Regions from separate parts of the Homo sapiens genome. Here all the other regions are linked to region 2. The links are contacts of gene promoters, found by promoter capture Hi-C in human tissues and cell types (Jung and others, 2019). All regions are on one chromosome and are shown on one strand. Each heading gives the region's core, a stretch centred on a gene start or on the middle of the fragment in contact. The rest is flanking DNA. Distances are from core to core; before and after follow the strand shown. Region 1 overlaps ZNF664-RFLNA (ZNF664-RFLNA readthrough). Region 2 holds the start of DNAH10OS (dynein axonemal heavy chain 10 opposite strand). Region 3 overlaps ATP6V0A2 (ATPase H+ transporting V0 subunit a2). Region 4 overlaps ZNF664-RFLNA (ZNF664-RFLNA readthrough). Region 5 overlaps ATP6V0A2 (ATPase H+ transporting V0 subunit a2). Region 6 overlaps DNAH10 (dynein axonemal heavy chain 10).

Region 1 (2,700 bases), core at 14-2,513, 210 kb after region 2:
ACTCAGCAAATGTGGCTGCTGTTATAATTACTTTTTTTGTTTGTTTTGTTTTGTTTTGAGATGGAGTTTGGCTCTTGTTGCTCAGGCTGCGGTGCAATGGCACGATCTCAGCTCACTGCAACCCCCGCCTCCCAGGTTCAAGCGATTCTTGTGCCTCAGCCTCTCGAGTAGCTGGGATTATTATAGGCACCCACCACCATGCCTGGCTAATTTTTTAAATTTTTACTAGAGACGGAGTTTTACCATGTTGGCCAGGCTGGTCTCGAACTTCTGACCTCAGGTGATCCACCCACCTTGGCCTCCGAAAGTGCTGGGATTACAGGCATGAGCCATCATGCCCAGCCCGTTGTAACTAATTATTCTTCTCTTTGTCTTAGACAGGGATGTATTTGGCCTTAAATGGCACACAGTCTGCAATGCTTGAGGGATGTCCCCTAAGAGGACTAAAGAACTGACAAAGGAGAAGAAGGAAATAATGGGACAGGAGGAAGCAACAGTGAGAAGAGGAGGGGAGTGGGCAGGAGGAAATAAGGACAGGAAGAAAAAGAGGCCAATGTAGGGGAGAGAGGGGCAGCTGGTCCCTGGAGCCGTCTATGTCCCTGGTTTGCAGAGAACATTCCCAAGGGAGTCGTGTTCCTGTTGCTCATTAATTCCCTGGTCAACTGGCCCCTTGTCGGGCTCTTGCCTGGAGCAGTTGAGTGTCCTCTAACTGGGAGCAGCTGAAACTTAAAGGGTTTTGCACCGTATGTTGTTTCCGGAGCTCCCTTTTTCCTGTGGCTTCTGTTTTTCTTATTAAATGCTGCTGCTGAATTTGCAGCTGAAAGAAAGACAGAAAGACTACTGAAGAAGGCCTTGCCGCCCTAAAAGCTTCAGTGGAGCAGTGGGTCTCCACGCTCGGAGGTGCTTTCTGGCTGTCCAGTTTACAAATGAACTGGCAAGGCAAGCTAGACCTTTCATCCAAGAATCCAGATTAATGTTGCCTCCGAGTGTTTGAAGGAGCCACAAGGTCTGACTTACGCATGGCTCTTTCTTCCTGGCAGAACCTGATAGGTCTGTTTCTGTTGTTATATCTGGGGAGCTTCTCACCAGGAAGGGACAAGCTTGTAAAAAACTTGGTGAGTTTATGTCTGGTCGGCAGTCGCAGGAATACTGGACCAGTTGAGGGAGGTTCTGGGACCCCTACATCTTTCCACTGCTTCCTGAGCCAGAGAGTGTAAGGGGAGAGGAAAGAATTCGCTCTTCTCTGCTGAAGTCCGGAAGCTGTAATGGGGTAACAGCCAGAACCAGGGGAGCCAGACTAGAGGCTTGGATTTTCTGCTTATGAGTGCACCCCCCAAACATCCAGAACTCCGTGGGCCTCCCAGGGTTGAAGCAACAAGCCACAGGTCCAGCACTTGGCTTTGGGACCCCCGGTCTCAGCAGTGGCTGTGTGTCCACCCATACGTTTGTTACTCAGCATCACTGTGGCCACTGCTGACTGATACTTATGAGGTGCTCAAAAGTCACTGACAAAGCAGCTGCCTGAGCTCACCTTGTCCTCATCACCTTTTCTCCTTTCCAGGCCGCACTTGGTGAGAGTCTTCACGGACCACAGTGTTGCACGAGGTGATTGTGTTTGCAGAGGTTTTTTTGTCCTTGAAGAGCACTTAGGGCTGGAGAGCAAGACACATGCTGACGAGCAGAAGCTGACAGGCTTGCTGCCATGTGGGAAAGTCCTTGGACGAGTTGTCTGCTTGCGGAGAGGTGTCTGCGGCTCAGGTAGGGTGTCCCAGCTCGGTGGGTCTCTGGGTTCCAGAGTTCCAGAGTTTATTTGGTGAAACACAGCAGGGGTTATCACTGTGGCCCATGGCAGGGCTGAGCTGCCAACTTGATGCCCGTTGTTAGGAACAGATGTGAATTGTGTGTCCGGGTGAATAAGCCTCACTGTGGAGCCTCCATGCTGTAGAGAACTGGAGGAGCCAGGTTTGCAGAGTCTGCAAGGCGATCGTGTCTATGCGAGGAGAAATCCCTCACTCGGAGGGATTGCATTCCAAGAGGGCTGGGAAGTGAAGCCCAGTCTTCGTGACTTCTCTTTTCAGACCCAGGAAACATGGGTTCTGTGTTCCCTAAAAGTACCTGGTAGACCATTTATCACGTGAGACCTAGTTATTTGTCTACTATATGCCAGGCACTAGAAGTAAAATGATGATGAAGTCATGGACCCTGAGTTGAGAGAGCTTGATGGCTAATGAGAGAGGTGATTACAATACAGCATGACGAATGAGATAACAGGAATAAGAGGAGGCTCATGCGGCCTAAGCATGATGGCTGGAGGGAGTCTTTTCCCAGGAGACAAGGGGGCCGTTGCAAGAGGAGGCCAGATGGGGAGGGGAGGGGCGCGGCAGGCAGAGGGAACAGCCCTGCTGAAGACAGGCAGGCTGGAGAAAACTCCATGTGCTGTGGACCTGGGAGTAATTAATTTCCCCTGAAAGCAGAGGGGGGCTGTTTTTCATGCTTATTTGTATTGTATATTTCATCTTTTGTAAAGTTCCCATTGTGTTTTAAAATTTCCCTTTGGGTTTTAAAAATGCCTGCACACATTCTTTGATACTCTTCCCTTCAAAGAAAGGAGTGTGGGTTGGATTTAACGGCCAGGTTCTAATGAATGAAGTTAAGTGGAAGTGCCTGTGTGTGACTTTGGAGACGAGGCAGTGGGCAGTG
Region 2 (2,700 bases), core at 103-2,602:
CAGCCTGCTGCAAATATTTCCTGTGTCTCTGCACTGCCCATGTCTTAACACCTCTGAGGGTGGATACGGAAGTTTCTCTTCCACTTTCTCCGTTGAGACCTGGGGTCTATGGCAGGGGAGACCTGAACCATGTTCACTCTGCTAGCTCATGGCAAGTGGGCTCCTAGGTCAGAATTAGCTCTTGCAAAAACCATCAGGTGGCTTTCTTGTAACCCCTGACGGGGCCAGGGGCATGGGAGCCACAGAGCAGCATGGACTAACTTGGTTGGAACTCTTTGATTATGCCAGAACTTCAGGTCCCTTAGACATTGGTTACTGACTGTGCAAATGAGAGCTGGAAACTGCTGTTTCCCCGGGTCCATGTTGTCTTAGAGTTCTTTTAACTGCAAGGAACAAAAGCTCTTTTGAGATGGCTTAAGGACTGGGGACTTACGGTAAAGATGCAGGGACTCTCCAGGTCTCAGTGGCAGGGGAGGTGGCAGGTGTCCGGGCCACCACTCTCTCTGGGGCCACAGGAGTGTGTTCCTCTCTTTGCACATCTGCTGGGTCCTCCTCCCCGGAGACCACTTTCTCTGTGAGGCTTCGACTTCCTGCTCCCCAGCCACTTCGGCTCACAGGGTAGCTGGGGTTGCCATGGTGCCCATTCTGACTCTGGGACCATGCATCTTTCTAGCCTGGGGGCCCAGGGTGGTCTAAGTCCGTGGGCCTTGATGCCCCAGGAATGAGGATTCCTGGGGGAGAGGCCACCGCCCCACACCCATTTCTCTGGGCCATGGGGCAGGGCCACAGGGTCTCCTGTCTGGGCTGCTCCTCCACAGAGGGAAGGTGGGCAGGACAGAAATGCTGGAGAAGGGCCTGGGCTGTCCCCAATGCGCTGGGGAGGAGGCCAGCCAGTGGCCTGTGTGTCGCTGTGTGTGCGCCTGATAGAGCCACTCCGTGGCAGGCTGTGCATGCTCCAGTTGTATCCAGTCTCTGCCTTGTGTCCCTAGGATGCTTTGTCTCAGGACTGTACCTGGAAGGTGCTGACTGGGATATAGAAAAAGGATGTCTTATCAAGAGCAAACCCAAGGTGCTGGTTGTGGACCTGCCGATCCTGAAGATCATCCCCATTGAAGCCCATCGCCTCAAGCTGCAGGTGAAGGTCCCAGCCCCTCCTCTCTGACACCAGGGCCCTTCCTCTTCTGACTGTAGTTATGGCTGAGGTGGTTTCCAACAGTCCTACTTTTTAAAACAGGGGTGCCTAAGCTTTATGGGCTGGGGAGAGTCTTGGAGCCGTGATAAAAGCTACGGATAGCTGCTTCCTGGAAAAGGCGCGGCTGTATGTGTGTGTGGATGCCGGTCCTTCCAGAGGTGTCAGGCTCAAGCTGTGATCCTGTGGTCTAGACTAACCAAGGGGAGACTCCCTCCCTTCTTGCAAAATGCTGCAGACATTGCCTGAGTCATAAAGTGGTTCCCGCTGGTGTGGACAGCAGATGTCTTCTGCTCTGCCTGGGCCAGGACCCACTTTTAACCAGGGTGTCAGTGTGAAGCCAGGTCCCCGTGAAGCTGGCGGAGGGTGGCCCTGAGCAGCCCCAGCCTTGTGCGTGTTCTCAGGTGCAGTCTTGCACAGGGGCCCCTGCCTGTCAAGACTTACACTGCACCTCTGCCTTTATCCCTCTGCACCCTCTCTCCGTGGGGGCATCTCACCTGCCTTTCCCTTGCAGAATACTTTCCGGACCCCCGTCTACACCACCTCCATGAGAAGGAACGCCATGGGAGTCGGCTTGGTTTTTGAAGCTGATCTCTTTACCACGAGGCACATTTCTCACTGGGTGCTGCAAGGAGTATGCCTCACCCTGAATTCTGATTAACCTTTGGGTGAAGAAAACTGCTTAATGAATTCGGAGCCTGGGGTTGTCAGAGTGATCGGGTCTGCTGTCATTTCTTGGGGCCTCTCAAGAGGCAGGAGGGGGACTGACACTGATTTTTCATTTGAAATCAGCCACTTAAATCTCTTTCCATACAAATTAACCTGAATGGTTTTGTTTTTAATACTACTTTTTAAAAGGAATTTATATAATCAAAAAGTAAATATTGGAGAGTATTTTAAGATGTGTGGAGTTTTCTTTTCCTTCTCAGAGAAAACACTTGATTAGGCAAAAGTGCCTGGCATACATAGCATTGGCACAAGTGAGAATCCTAATGTAATTTCCAAAGGTGTGTTTTCGATGATCCAGGTCTGTTTCAGCAGATGCTCCTTTTTGGCAAGAAGGGCTGATGATGTCGGGCACAGAGCAGAAGTGACCAGTCACCTGGAGCCACTTCTCCCCCTTCCAGAACTCTCTGGCCCTAGCTTCTTTGGCTCTGACCTGCTACGGCGACTGTGAAGTTGTTGAGCTTAGTGTTTAGTTCCTGCATGAGCTTCTACCCCCAGCCTGCCTGGGTCTGTGTGGGGTCAGGTAAGGACACAGAACCTCCAGGACCAGTGGTCACTGGGCACCCCTTCCCTCTGTGCACCATGAGGCTGGCCTGGAGCCCTGGCTGGCCACCTGGAGGTGAGGGGTGGCTTCACTCCATGAGGGAGGAGAGGGGCTAGCACGGGCAGCACAGTGGGCAGGGGCCATCAGAGGCAAAAGCAGCTTCCCACAGAAGCTCAGGAGCGCAGCACATTCTAAGGACTAGCTCTGGGCCGGGAGGAGGCCGGAGTCGCTTCTGGGACCT
Region 3 (2,700 bases), core at 191-2,690, 220 kb before region 2:
TTGGGAGGCTGAGGCAGCCACATCACTTGAGCCCACCAGTTTGAGACCAGCCTGAACAACATGGCGAAACCCCATCTCTACCCAAAATACAAAAATTAGCCGGGTGTGGTGGCACGTGCCTTTAATCCCAGCTACTCAGGAGGCTGAGGCAGGAGGATCGCTTGAACCTGGGAGGCAGAGGTTGCAGTGAGCTGAGATTGCGCCACTGGACTTCAGCCTAGGCGACAGTGAGATCCTGTCTCAAAAAAAAAAAAAAAGAGTTTATAGAGTCATGCATCCATTGCCACAATTGTTTTAGAACATTCCATCACCCCAGAAGATTCTTAATGCTCATTTACAGTTAATCCTTATTCCTACCCCCACCCCCCCAGCACCCACTAATCTGCTTGCTGCCTCTAGGGTTGTCTGGACATTCCATGTAAGTGGAATCGCACAGTATGTGGCTTCTTGTGTCTGGCTGCTTTCACTTAGTATGAAAGTCATCCAGGGTGGGCGTGGTGGCTCACGCCTGTAATCCTAGCATTTTGGGAGGCCGAGGTGGGCGAATCATCTGAGGTCAGGAGTTTGAGACCAGCCTGGCCAACATGGTGAAACCCCATCTCTACTAAAAATACAAAAATTAGCCGGGGGTGGTGGCACTTGGCTGTAATCCCAGCTACTCGGGAGGCTGAGGCAGGAGAATCGCTTGAACCTGGAAGGCGAAGGTTGCAGTGAGCCAAGATACTGCCAGTACGTTCCAGCCTGGGCAACAGAGCGAAACTCTGTCTCAAAAAAAAAAAAAAAAAAAAAAGAGAAAGTCATCCCTGTTGTTGCATGGGTCAGTAGTTCATTCCTTTTTATTGCTAAGTAGCATTCCATTGTGTGGATATAGACTGTAATTTCTTTTCTTTTCTTTCTTTCTTTTTTTTTTTTTTTTGAGACAGGCTCTTGCTTTGTCACCCAGGCTAGAGTGCAGTGGTGTGATCACTGCTCACTGCAATCTCGATCTCCTGGGCTCAAGCAATCCTCCTGCCACAGCCTTCTGAGCAACTGGGACCACAGGCGTGCACCACCAGGCCTGGCTAATTTTTTATTTTTTGGAGAGATGGTGTCTTACCATGTTGCCCAGGCTGGCCTCAAACTACTGGCCTCAGGTAGTCCTCCCACCTCAGCCTCCCAAATTGCTGGGATTATCAACACGAGCTGCTGTGCCTGGCTATAATTTCTTTAACTACGCTACTGTAATTTCTTGAACTAGTTTTCTATTGTTGGATTTTTGGGTTATCATTTTTTCTTTTTCCCTGAGATTGATGTTGTCATAGATTTTCATCTGTTTCCATAGCTTTTTCCTTAGGTTAAATTTTCTTCATGGGGTATTGCTGGGCAAATAATCATTTTCAGGATTTTTTCTTTTTTTGACCCAGGGTCTCACTGTGTCACCTGGGCTGGATTGCAGTGGTGTGATCTCAGCTCCATCCAACCTCTGCCTCTCGGGCTCAAGCAATTCTCGTGCCTCAGCCTTCCAAGTAGCTGGAATTACTTAGGTGCGCCACCATGCCTGGCTAATTTTTTTTTTTTTTTTGAGATAGTGTCTTGCCCTGTTGCCCAGGTTGGAGTGCAAATGGCACGATCTTGGCTCACTGCAACCTCCGCCTCCTGGGTTCAAGCAATTTTTCCACCTCAGCCTCCCGAGTAGCTGGGATTACAGGTACTTGCCATCATGCTTGGCTAATTTTTGTGTTTTCGTAGAGGTGGGATTTCACCATGTTGGCCAGGCTGGTCTTGAACTCCCGACCTCAAGTGATCTGCCCGCCTCATCCTCCCAAAGTGCTGGGATTACAGGCGTGAGCTACCGCCCCGGCCTAATTTTTGTATTTTTAGCAGGGTTGGGGTTTCACCGTGTTGGCCCGGCTGGATTTTCAGGCTTTTTTGGTAACAGTTGACAAATTGCTCTCAAGAAAAGTTGTGTCAGTTTATAGTTTCATTCAATAGTATACAAGAGTGTACATCCCCCAAACTTTGGTGATGTTTTATTTTTTACATAAAAGTATTTTTAAATTTTAGAAATTTAAACCATATTTTTCATCCTTTTCTCAGCTCAACCAGAACGTAAGTTCTTTCCAAAGAAAATTTGTTGGTGAGGTGAAGAGGTGTGAAGAGCTAGAGCGAATATTGGGTAAGTTTATTTTCTGATTTAACAACTTAAATAATTACCTTTATATAGGCAAACCTTGTTCGGTTTAAAAATATTGGAAAATATAGACAAGCAGAAAGGAAAAAAAGAAATTGTATTCTCATTCAGAAGTAATCACAGTTATGTAGGCATGTATTATTTTTCTGTATTTTTTTATTCATCTATAAAAGTAAAAATTTACAAACATAATGGCCTGGTTATTTTGTTGTTACCCTTGTTTTTTACTTAACAGTGCTTACTATAACATCTTTTCGTGTCAGTAGACATAGATATTTACCCATCATCGTTTTTGATGGCAGCATACTATTTGATTGTATTAATATTAATGTGCTGTGGCTTATTTAACCGATCCCTTGTAGTTTATTATAACTTAAAAACATTGTACTTGTTAATAAGTTACTTAATTTAAAATTTTTTCAAGGAACAAGGGAGGCGGGAAATGGAAGATAGAGTGATTGACAATAATTTCCTTTTTCTCAGGGCTTCCTTTGCCAGTGTGTTAGATCAGTGCTGATTGTTAACCATTT
Region 4 (2,700 bases), core at 141-2,640, 190 kb after region 2:
TGCCTTATTTGGCCAAAGTTGCAGGCTTTGGGTGCAGCTGGATGTAGGGGCCTCAACAGTGTCATCAGGATGTGGTTTGAAGCCTCTCTCGAATTCTTGTCCCCATCTTCTCCATGTTGAGTCTGTTCTTGGGCTTCTCCTGTGGCCACCGGCAGCACCAGTCTCACCAGGCGCTCACAAGATGGCAGCACCAGTGCCCGCTCTTGGAAGAAAAGAGAAAACCGGGCCGGGCGCGGTGGCTCACGCCTGTAATCCCGGCATTTTGGGAGGCCGAGGCGGGTGGATCACCTGAGGTCAGGAGATCGAGATCATCCTGGCTAACATGGTGAAACCCCGTCTCTACTAAAAATACAAAAAATTAGCAGGGCATGGAGGCATGTGCCTGTAGTCCCAGCTACTCAGGAGGCTGAGGCAGCAGAATCGCTTGAACCTGGGAGGCAGAGGTTGCAGTGAGCTGAGATCGCGCTATTGACACTCCACACTGGGCGACAGAGCGAGACTCCGTTTAAAAAAAGAAAAAGAAAAGAAAGAAAACTGGCGCCTGGGTTCCAGCATTCTCATTGGCTCCTGTGGAGTCATGTGTCAACCCTTGAGCCAATCACATGGCTGTGGGTCCCTGGGTTCCTGCTGCCTGGGTGGGGCCCCATCTGAACCCCTTCTCTGAGAGCTCTTGGGTGTGGGTCCCTGGAGGGAAACTGGGGGCTGTTTAGGAAGAAAATCAACATGCCCAATGTCTGCTGGATCAGTGAACCCGATTATGATAAAATAAAAATATCGAGAACTCTCAAATTTGCCTAAACCTGGGCACCCCAGGTGTTTGCCCATTAGTGCCTCTGTATGAGTCACCTTGGTTTTCTAGGTTCATGGATCTACCCCATGTCTCCACATTCTTGGATATTTATAAGAACCTTTCCACATTCAGAGTGGGGCTAGAGGAGGAAAAAACTTACTTGCTTGATTAATTAAATCAATTACTTAATACCCTAAAGCTTTCTGATGCTGTAAAGTGCAGGTTTCATATACTGGGCATGAGGGGTTTTCATAGACTCGACTTGTGTTGCAAATTAAAACAACGTTAAATTCCTTAGTAATCCTAGCAGAAAGGAAAAAAAAAAAAGTAAGAAAAAAGAAAAGGGAAAATAAAACCCCTCTTATTTCCAAATCACTACCAGTGGAATTTAAAAAATTATTTACACACTTAGCTGTGAGTCCCTTTATACCTGACAGGTTTGCCAGTAAGGCTGGAGCAATAATTTAAAACAGAAGTTGGGAGTATGGATAATGAACTCCCTCTCTTTTCCAAAATAAATGTACCATCGGATCCACAAGAGAGGTGACTTTTCCTAAGAAAGGACTGTACGTTTGGGAGCCAGGGGCCCCTGATGCTGTGTGAGGTAAGCCGATAGCACAGTGTGTTACTGTCTGTGGATGCGAGAATGAAATGAGGGCTGTTTCTTTGATTTATAGTGGAAGGAAACACCAATTTCTTGTCACAGATCATTACAGTTGAATTTAGGTCAAACTCATATGCTTATATGGAATTACTAATGCATGGAGGTACTTTTTGCTTTTTGTTTTTAACTCGCCAATCATTATCTACAGGATTTTTCTCGGGGGAGGTGGGGGATGGAATTTCACTCTGACACCCAGGCTGTAGTGCTGTGGCGTGATCTCAGCTCACCGCAACCTCCGCCTCCCAGGTTCAAGAAATTCTCCTGCCTCAGCCTCCTGAGTAGCTGGGATTACAGACATGTGCCACCACGCCCAGTTAATTTTTGTATTTTTAGTAGAGACGGGGCTTCACCGTGCTGGCCAGGCTGATCTTGAACTCCTGACCTCAAGTGATCCGCCTGCATCGGCCTCCCAAAGTGCTGGGATTACAGGTGTGAGCCACCGTGCCTGGCCATCGACTGAATATTATACTGAATTTTATTTTGAAAACAGAGAAGACTCCATTCTCTGCCTCCTGATGTACACATTCCGGAAGGGGTCATTGTTGGATGGTTGAGTGCATTGGGGTTATATTGAAATGGATTTGGGAAGGCTCTACAGCAAGGAAGGAATCTTCAGGTCTCTAGAATGTTCCTAGGCTGCTTCTCAGAGTGAGAGTCTGTAGTGGACACTGCCAGGGTCCAACCCATATCTCTCCAATGGCCATCATGCTCAACTCAACTCCCAAACACCTGCACCCTGGAAGACCACTTTTCCCAGCCAGCAGCTGGAAGTGCTGGGGGTTCCACTGCCCCCAAGAAACCCTCAACCAATGGCCCTAAGCAGTTGGTGTATAAATACCCCAGTTCCCTTGTTCCTCAGGTGGCATCATTCTTCTTTAAAAAGACTTCTTTATTTTGTAATTATTTTATTTTACTTTATTTTATTTATTTATTTGTTTTTGAGACAGAGTCTCGCTCTGTCGCCTAGACTGGAGTGCAGTGGCATGATCTCGGCTCATTGCAACCTCCGCTTCCCGGGTTCAAGTGATTCTCCTGCCTCAGCCTCCCGAGTAGCTGGGTTTACAGGTGTGTGCCACCATGCCTGGCTAATTTTTTGTGTTTTTAGTAGAGACAGGGTTTCCCCATGTTGGCCAGGCTGGTCTTGAACTCCTAACCTCAAGTGATCTGCCTGCCTTGGCCTCCCAAAGTTCTGGGATTACTGACATGAGCCTCCGTGCCTGGCCTATTTTGTAATAATTTTAAACTT
Region 5 (2,700 bases), core at 135-2,634, 180 kb before region 2:
GGGGTTTAACTCAGTCCTTCAGTTCAGATGGGCACAATTTAAATGCCTTTTTCCATATTCGTCTTAATTTCTTCTTTAAGATTTTCTTTTTTCTTTTCTTTTCTTTCTTTCTTTCTTTTTTTTTTTTTTTGAGACTGGAGTCTTCGTCTGTTGCCCAGGCTGGAGTGCAGTGGCACTATCTCAGCTTACTGCAACCTCTGCCCTCCGGGTTCAAGCAATTCTCTTGCCTCAGCCCTCAAATAGGGGGACTACAGGCGCCCGCCACCACGCCCTGCTAATTTTTGTATTTTTTGTAAAAGACGGGGTTTTGCCATGTTGCACAGGCTGGTCTTGAACTCCTGACCTCAGGTGATTCACCTGCCTCGGCTTCCCAAAGTGCTGTGATTACAGGTGTGAGCCACTGTGCCTAGCCTAAAGAACTTTTTTATTCTCAAAGAGCTGAATCATTAAGAGAAACAAAGAAACTATACAAGTTTGGTTTTGTCACAACCTTGTGGTTTTACAGGCACTGACTCTGTGCTCTTTTGGTTGTTAGAGTGGCTACACACTTATAAGGAAAGATAGTGAGGAAGAAGTTTCATTGCTGGGAAGCCAAGATATAGAAGAGGGAAATCACCAGGTGGAAGATGGATGTAGAGAAATGGCGTGTGAAGAGGTAAATCTTTTCAACTGCTATTGATAAACTTAGATAAGTAACCAAGCTTCCATAGAGATAATCATGTTAAGATAATATTTAATCATCTTAAAAAATGGTTAAGAAAATGGGACTTCCAGCCTCCACAACTATGAGAAACCAGCGCTTTCCAAATGCTGTTTGATGATAGAGTTGGTGGCATTATATGAGTTCGGGTCATTTTGTCCTTTCACTTCGCCAGTGGGATTTCTGCTGTTATATTAAGAGTTATGATTGGAGTGACTTAAGGTGCCATGAACATTGCTTTCAGAAGCTTCTTGGGTCAGTCAGAACTTTTCCATAGTTGCAAGAAATAGAGACCCAGTTTTTTCTGATTGCGAAGGGATTTTACTGGCTCATGGCAGGACAGAGGTAGAGTTGGTTTCAGGATAATTACAGTTTTGGGGTCTCCAATTCCAAGAGGCCTTGGTTGGCTTTTTTTCTTTGTAAGTTTTCTTTATATTGTGAAGTCAGTTGGCCCCATGATGCTAGAACCATGGTCACAAGTTGCCCTGGGCTTATTTTTTCAGTCTTTCCATTAGAGAGCAAAGCGCCCTTACCAGCTTGTTACTATTAGGAAAGAATCCCCAAATACCTGCCATCCCTGGACCAGTGACTGCTGCCTCAGTCCCCTTTACGAGTGACCGCTGCCTCAGTCCCCTTCACCAGTGACTGCTGCCTGAGTCCCCTGGACCGGTGTCTGCTCAGTCTCCCTTACCAGTGACCACTGTGTCAGTCCCCTTTACCAGTGACTGCTGCCTGAGTCCCCTGGACCGGTGTCTGCTCAGTCTCCCTTACCAGTGACCACTGTGTCAGTCCCCTTTACCAGTGACTGCTGCCTTAGTCCCCTTTACCAATGACTGCGTTCTCAGTCCCCTGGACCAGTGACTGCTATCTTAGTCCGCTGGGGCTGCCATAACAAAATACCACGGACTGGGTGGCTTCAACAAGAGACTTGTTTCTCACAGCCCCGGAGGCTGGCAGGCCCGGACTGAGATGCTGGCAGGCTGCTTTCCCCTGAGGCCTCCCTGCTCAGCTTGCTGTGTCGGCACAGGGCCTTTCCTCTGTGCCTGCACCCCTGTTTCTCCTGCTCTTCCCAGAAGACAGTAGTCACAGTGGGTCAGGGCCCACCTCCTGACCTCACTCAACCTTGATTACCTCCTCAAAGGTTCTGTCTTCAAATACAGTCACATTGCGGTTAGGGCTTCAGCATAAGACTTTTGGGAACATAATTCAGAGCCAGTGTGGTTGGGGGTACGAGGCTGGACAGGGAAGTAGCGGCTCCCCGCAAAGAACAGAGGTGCAGTCCCAGGAAGACAGCAGAGCATGGCCTCCTTTCTTTTCATGGAAACTTTATTTTGGCCATTTAGTGAGGACCAAACAAAATGTCTTATAATCAACATTTTGTAATTATTATGTAATTTCGTGTTTTAATTCGGGACAATTAATAATTAAGTTCTAGGATCATAGAGAAACAAAAGCAGAGCTGGAAAGCGCATGAGAGTCACCTTGCCTGGTGCTTTGCAGCCCTTTCCCTGTCAGGGGCCCCTTGCATAGTTTTCCCTGGTTGGCTCTACTTAGAATGCTCACATCTAGTGAATCGCAGTCTACTCTTAGGGTTGGTGAATACCTATTTTATCAGTAGATGTTTCATAATTACTGAGACCTGCCCCAGAATCCCATTAGTATAGCAGCTGTGGCCACGGCAGTTCCTCTGGTCTACCTTCTTGGTTTACACAGGGGAGTCTGAGGCGTGCGGTGGGAGTGGGGCTGATGAAGGTGGGGATTTGGGGTGGTAAAGTCTGGTCATGGAGCTGGGTAGTGGCAGAGTGGTGAACAGAGTGCGTCTGGGGTTTCTGTTCCTCACACTCTAGCGTGTTCTTACCAGCATCCAGCCGGCAGCTCTTTCATTGTAATCCTTGAAGTGGAACCCACTTGGCATGTAGAAGTACACATGTAACATCATGACTCTTAACATATGTTGTGTGATCTCTCTCAGTTTAATTTTGGAGAAATATTAATGACCC
Region 6 (2,700 bases), core at 18-2,517, 150 kb before region 2:
GGAAACCGTTGACATCTTGGAGCAGTGTGTGATAAACTGGCTGAATCAGATATCCACAGCGGTTGAGGCCCAACTGAAGAAGACACCTCAGGTAGTTTGTGCAGGGCTTTCAGAGAGCCCCGATCCAGGTCATGCTTACCATGCTGGGAAAGAGCCCGGAGTCTGGGGTCTGCATCATCTGGCATCTTTTCTTACTGTTTTATGACTTCCTTAAGCCATCAAAATAAACACACCCAAAATATCATTTCTGGGCTTTCTGATGTTAATGTGCTACCAGGTTACTGCCTGGATTGATAAAGATAACACTTTGGATCAGTCAGGAAGCTTGGGCTGCCAAAAACAGGAAACCCAACTCAAGTCGATCAACTAAGAAAGCAAATTCCTTGGCTCACATAATGGAAAAGTCCAGAGGCAGGGTTGGCTTCAGGTCCAGTCTGATCAGGGCTCTGGCTATATTTCTGAATCTCTCAGTTCTAGACCCCTTTCTAGGGGCTGGAGAGCTTCATTCCTCAGGCTGGCTTCCTTGCAGCAGTTTCTGGCCTCACATTCTGTACACCTCAGTTGTCCGGAGAAAGGCAGAGTGTGTTTCTAGCATTCTCAGCTGGAGCCCTGAGATTCACTATGATTGGACCACCCAGGGTCAAGAGCCCACCCCTGAAGACCCTGAAGGATTGGAGCAGTTGGACAGAAAGAACGGATGCTGGAGAAACCACCATAAGTGTCTGCTCCACCCTAATAATGAGAGTTCTTTGTGTGTTCATTTCACCTCTCAGGGTAAAGGCCCTCTGGCTGAAATTGAATTCTGGAGGGAAAGAAATGCAACCTTAAGTGCGCTGCATGAACAAACAAAGCTTCCAATAGTCAGAAAAGTCTTGGATGTGATCAAGGAATCCGACTCCATGCTTGTGGCTAATCTGCAGCCAGTGTTCACCGAGTTATTCAAGTTCCACACGGAGGCCTCAGACAATGTGCGCTTTCTCTCCACCGTGGAGCGTTATTTCAAGGTATGCTGGGTGTGCTGCACTTTGCAGTCAGCTCTGTCAAAGAGATTTCATATGATTTAATTTCCCTTTTAAAAATGTTCAGCATTTGGCCAGGAGCAGTGGCTCATGCCTGTAATCCCAGCACTTTGGGAGGCTGAGGTGGGCAGATCGCTTGAGCTCAGGAGTTGGAAACCAGCCTGGCCAACATGGTAAAACCCTGTCTCTCCAAAAAATACAAAAATTAGCTGGGTATGGTGGTGTGCACCTGTAGTTCCAGCTACTCAGGAGGCTGAGGTGGAAGGATTGCTTGAGCCTGGGAGATGGAGGTTGCAGTGAGCCAAGATTGCGCCACTACACTCCAGCCTGGGCAACATAGCGAGACCCTGTCTCAAAAAAAACCTCAGAATTTAAAAAATTGTGATAAAATAGACATGACATGATATTATCATTTTAACCACTATTAAGCATACAGTTCAGTGGCACTAAATACATACACAATGCTGTGTGTCCATTACACTATTTCCAAAACAGTTTCATCTTCCCAAACTGGAATTCTGTGTCCATTAAACACTAACTCCCCCTTCTTCCTTACCCTAAGTCCCTGGTAACTTCTGTTCTGCTTTCTGTCTTTGTAAATCTGACTACTCTAGGGACTTCATATAAGGGGAGTCATGCAGGACTGATCCTGTGTGCAGTCTCTTTCACTCAGCACCAGGTTTTCAAGGTTCACCTGTGTTGTAGCGTGGAGCGTGTTAGTGTTTCACTCCTTTCTGTGGCAGAATCATATTCCATAGCATGGATAGACTACATTTGGTTTCTCTATTCATCAGTCGGTGGGCATTTGAGTTGTTTCTGCATTTTGGCTATTATGAAGAATGCTGCTACGAACATTCTTGTACAAGGATTTGTGTGGATGTGTGTTTTTAATTATTCATGTATTATGCATAGGAGTGGAATAGCTGGGTCATATATGGTAACTGTTTAACCTCTTGAGGAATTTCTAGACTGTTTTCCAAAGTGGTTGTCCCATTTTACATTCTGAAGAGCAATACACGAAGGTTCTGGTTTTTCCGTATCTTCACCACCACTTGTTATCGTCTTTCTGATAATAGCCATTGTGGTTTAATTTGCATTTCCTTAACAACTAGTGAGACTGAACAACTTTTTATGTACTTAATGTGCTTATTGTCAATTTCATATTGTTGGTGAAATGTCTGTTTTAATCTTTTGCCCGTTATTTATTTGAGTTATTATTATAAGAGATTAAAAAAAGTCTGCTCACCTGGGCAACATAGTGCGACCTCATCTCTACAAAAATAAAAATAAAAAATTAGCCGGTGTAGTGGTGCATGCCTGTATTCTCAGCTTACTTGGGAGGCTGAGGTGGGAGGATCACTTGAGTCCGCAGGGGAGTCGAGGCTGCAGTAAGCCATGTTTGTGCCATTGCACTCCAGCCTGGGCACCAGACTTGGTCTCAAGGAAAAAAAAAAAAAAAAAAGAGTGAAACTTCTTGCATGCTTACTGTTTTATGAAACTATTTGGACCCCAAGGCTAAGGGCTCTTGCGTGGCTCTCTCCTCTCTTGGTCAGAACATAACGCACGGGTCTGGCTTCCACGTGGTCCTGGACACCATCCCCGCCATGATGAGTGCCCTGCGGATGGTGTGGATCATCTCCCGACACTACAACAAAGACGAGAGGATGATTCCGCTCATGGA

What was found. The method cuts DNA at HindIII sites, captures the fragments that hold promoters and counts their contacts. A contact is called where the count stands out against the background at its distance.
Region 1: a contact is called between a fragment that was not itself captured here and the fragment with the promoter of DNAH10OS in region 2, in 3 of the 25 tissues and cell types used here (bladder, mesenchymal stem cells and pancreas).
Region 3: a fragment that was not itself captured here is called in contact with the fragment with the promoter of DNAH10OS in region 2 in 2 of the 25 tissues and cell types used here (hippocampus and mesenchymal stem cells).
Region 4: a contact is called between a fragment that was not itself captured here and the fragment with the promoter of DNAH10OS in region 2, in 2 of the 25 tissues and cell types used here (mesendoderm cells and thymus).
Region 5: a fragment that was not itself captured here is called in contact with the fragment with the promoter of DNAH10OS in region 2 in 4 of the 25 tissues and cell types used here (dorsolateral prefrontal cortex, lymphoblastoid cells, mesenchymal stem cells and 1 more).
Region 6: a fragment that was not itself captured here is called in contact with the fragment with the promoter of DNAH10OS in region 2 in 6 of the 25 tissues and cell types used here (bladder, dorsolateral prefrontal cortex, heart right ventricle and 3 more).

Annotation. Positions count from the first base shown.
Region 1 is chr12:124,148,034-124,150,733 of GRCh38, forward strand. It overlaps ZNF664-RFLNA (ZNF664-RFLNA readthrough), which reads left to right. Exons shown (of 5, transcript NM_001347902.2): 3 at 1,562-1,758. Among named protein-coding and RNA genes, the nearest start is that of RFLNA, 150 kb to the right of the region's middle. The HindIII fragment of the contact is 4,759 bases long and covers 1-2,700 here.
Region 2 is chr12:123,933,632-123,936,331 of GRCh38, forward strand. DNAH10OS (dynein axonemal heavy chain 10 opposite strand) reads right to left here and starts at 1,353. Exons shown (of 2, transcript NR_187476.1): 1 at 434-1,353. It overlaps DNAH10 (dynein axonemal heavy chain 10), which reads left to right. Exons shown (of 79, transcript NM_001372106.1): 78 at 990-1,135; 79 at 1,704-2,083. The coding sequence ends at 1,850. It overlaps CCDC92 (coiled-coil domain containing 92), which reads right to left. Exons shown (of 5, transcript NM_025140.3): 5 at 1,995-2,700. The HindIII fragment of the contact is 2,982 bases long and covers 309-2,700 here.
Region 3 is chr12:123,716,547-123,719,246 of GRCh38, forward strand. It overlaps ATP6V0A2 (ATPase H+ transporting V0 subunit a2), which reads left to right. Exons shown (of 20, transcript NM_012463.4): 2 at 2,077-2,155. The region is part of intron 1 of LOC105370042 (a long non-coding RNA gene); the gene reads right to left. Among named protein-coding and RNA genes, the nearest start is that of ATP6V0A2, 5.5 kb to the left of the region's middle. The HindIII fragment of the contact is 3,053 bases long and covers 1-2,700 here.
Region 4 is chr12:124,119,525-124,122,224 of GRCh38, forward strand. All of the region lies in intron 2 of ZNF664-RFLNA (ZNF664-RFLNA readthrough), which reads left to right. Among named protein-coding and RNA genes, the nearest start is that of ZNF664-RFLNA, 150 kb to the left of the region's middle. The HindIII fragment of the contact is 4,377 bases long and covers 1-2,700 here.
Region 5 is chr12:123,751,748-123,754,447 of GRCh38, forward strand. It overlaps ATP6V0A2 (ATPase H+ transporting V0 subunit a2), which reads left to right. Exons shown (of 20, transcript NM_012463.4): 17 at 536-655; 18 at 2,673-2,700. Among named protein-coding and RNA genes, the nearest start is that of DNAH10, 9.2 kb to the right of the region's middle. The HindIII fragment of the contact is 4,485 bases long and covers 1-2,700 here.
Region 6 is chr12:123,783,174-123,785,873 of GRCh38, forward strand. It overlaps DNAH10 (dynein axonemal heavy chain 10), which reads left to right. Exons shown (of 79, transcript NM_001372106.1): 7 at 1-91; 8 at 774-1,004; 9 at 2,573-2,700. All of the region lies in intron 4 of LOC105370044 (a long non-coding RNA gene), which reads right to left. Among named protein-coding and RNA genes, the nearest start is that of DNAH10, 22 kb to the left of the region's middle. The HindIII fragment of the contact is 4,104 bases long and covers 1-2,700 here.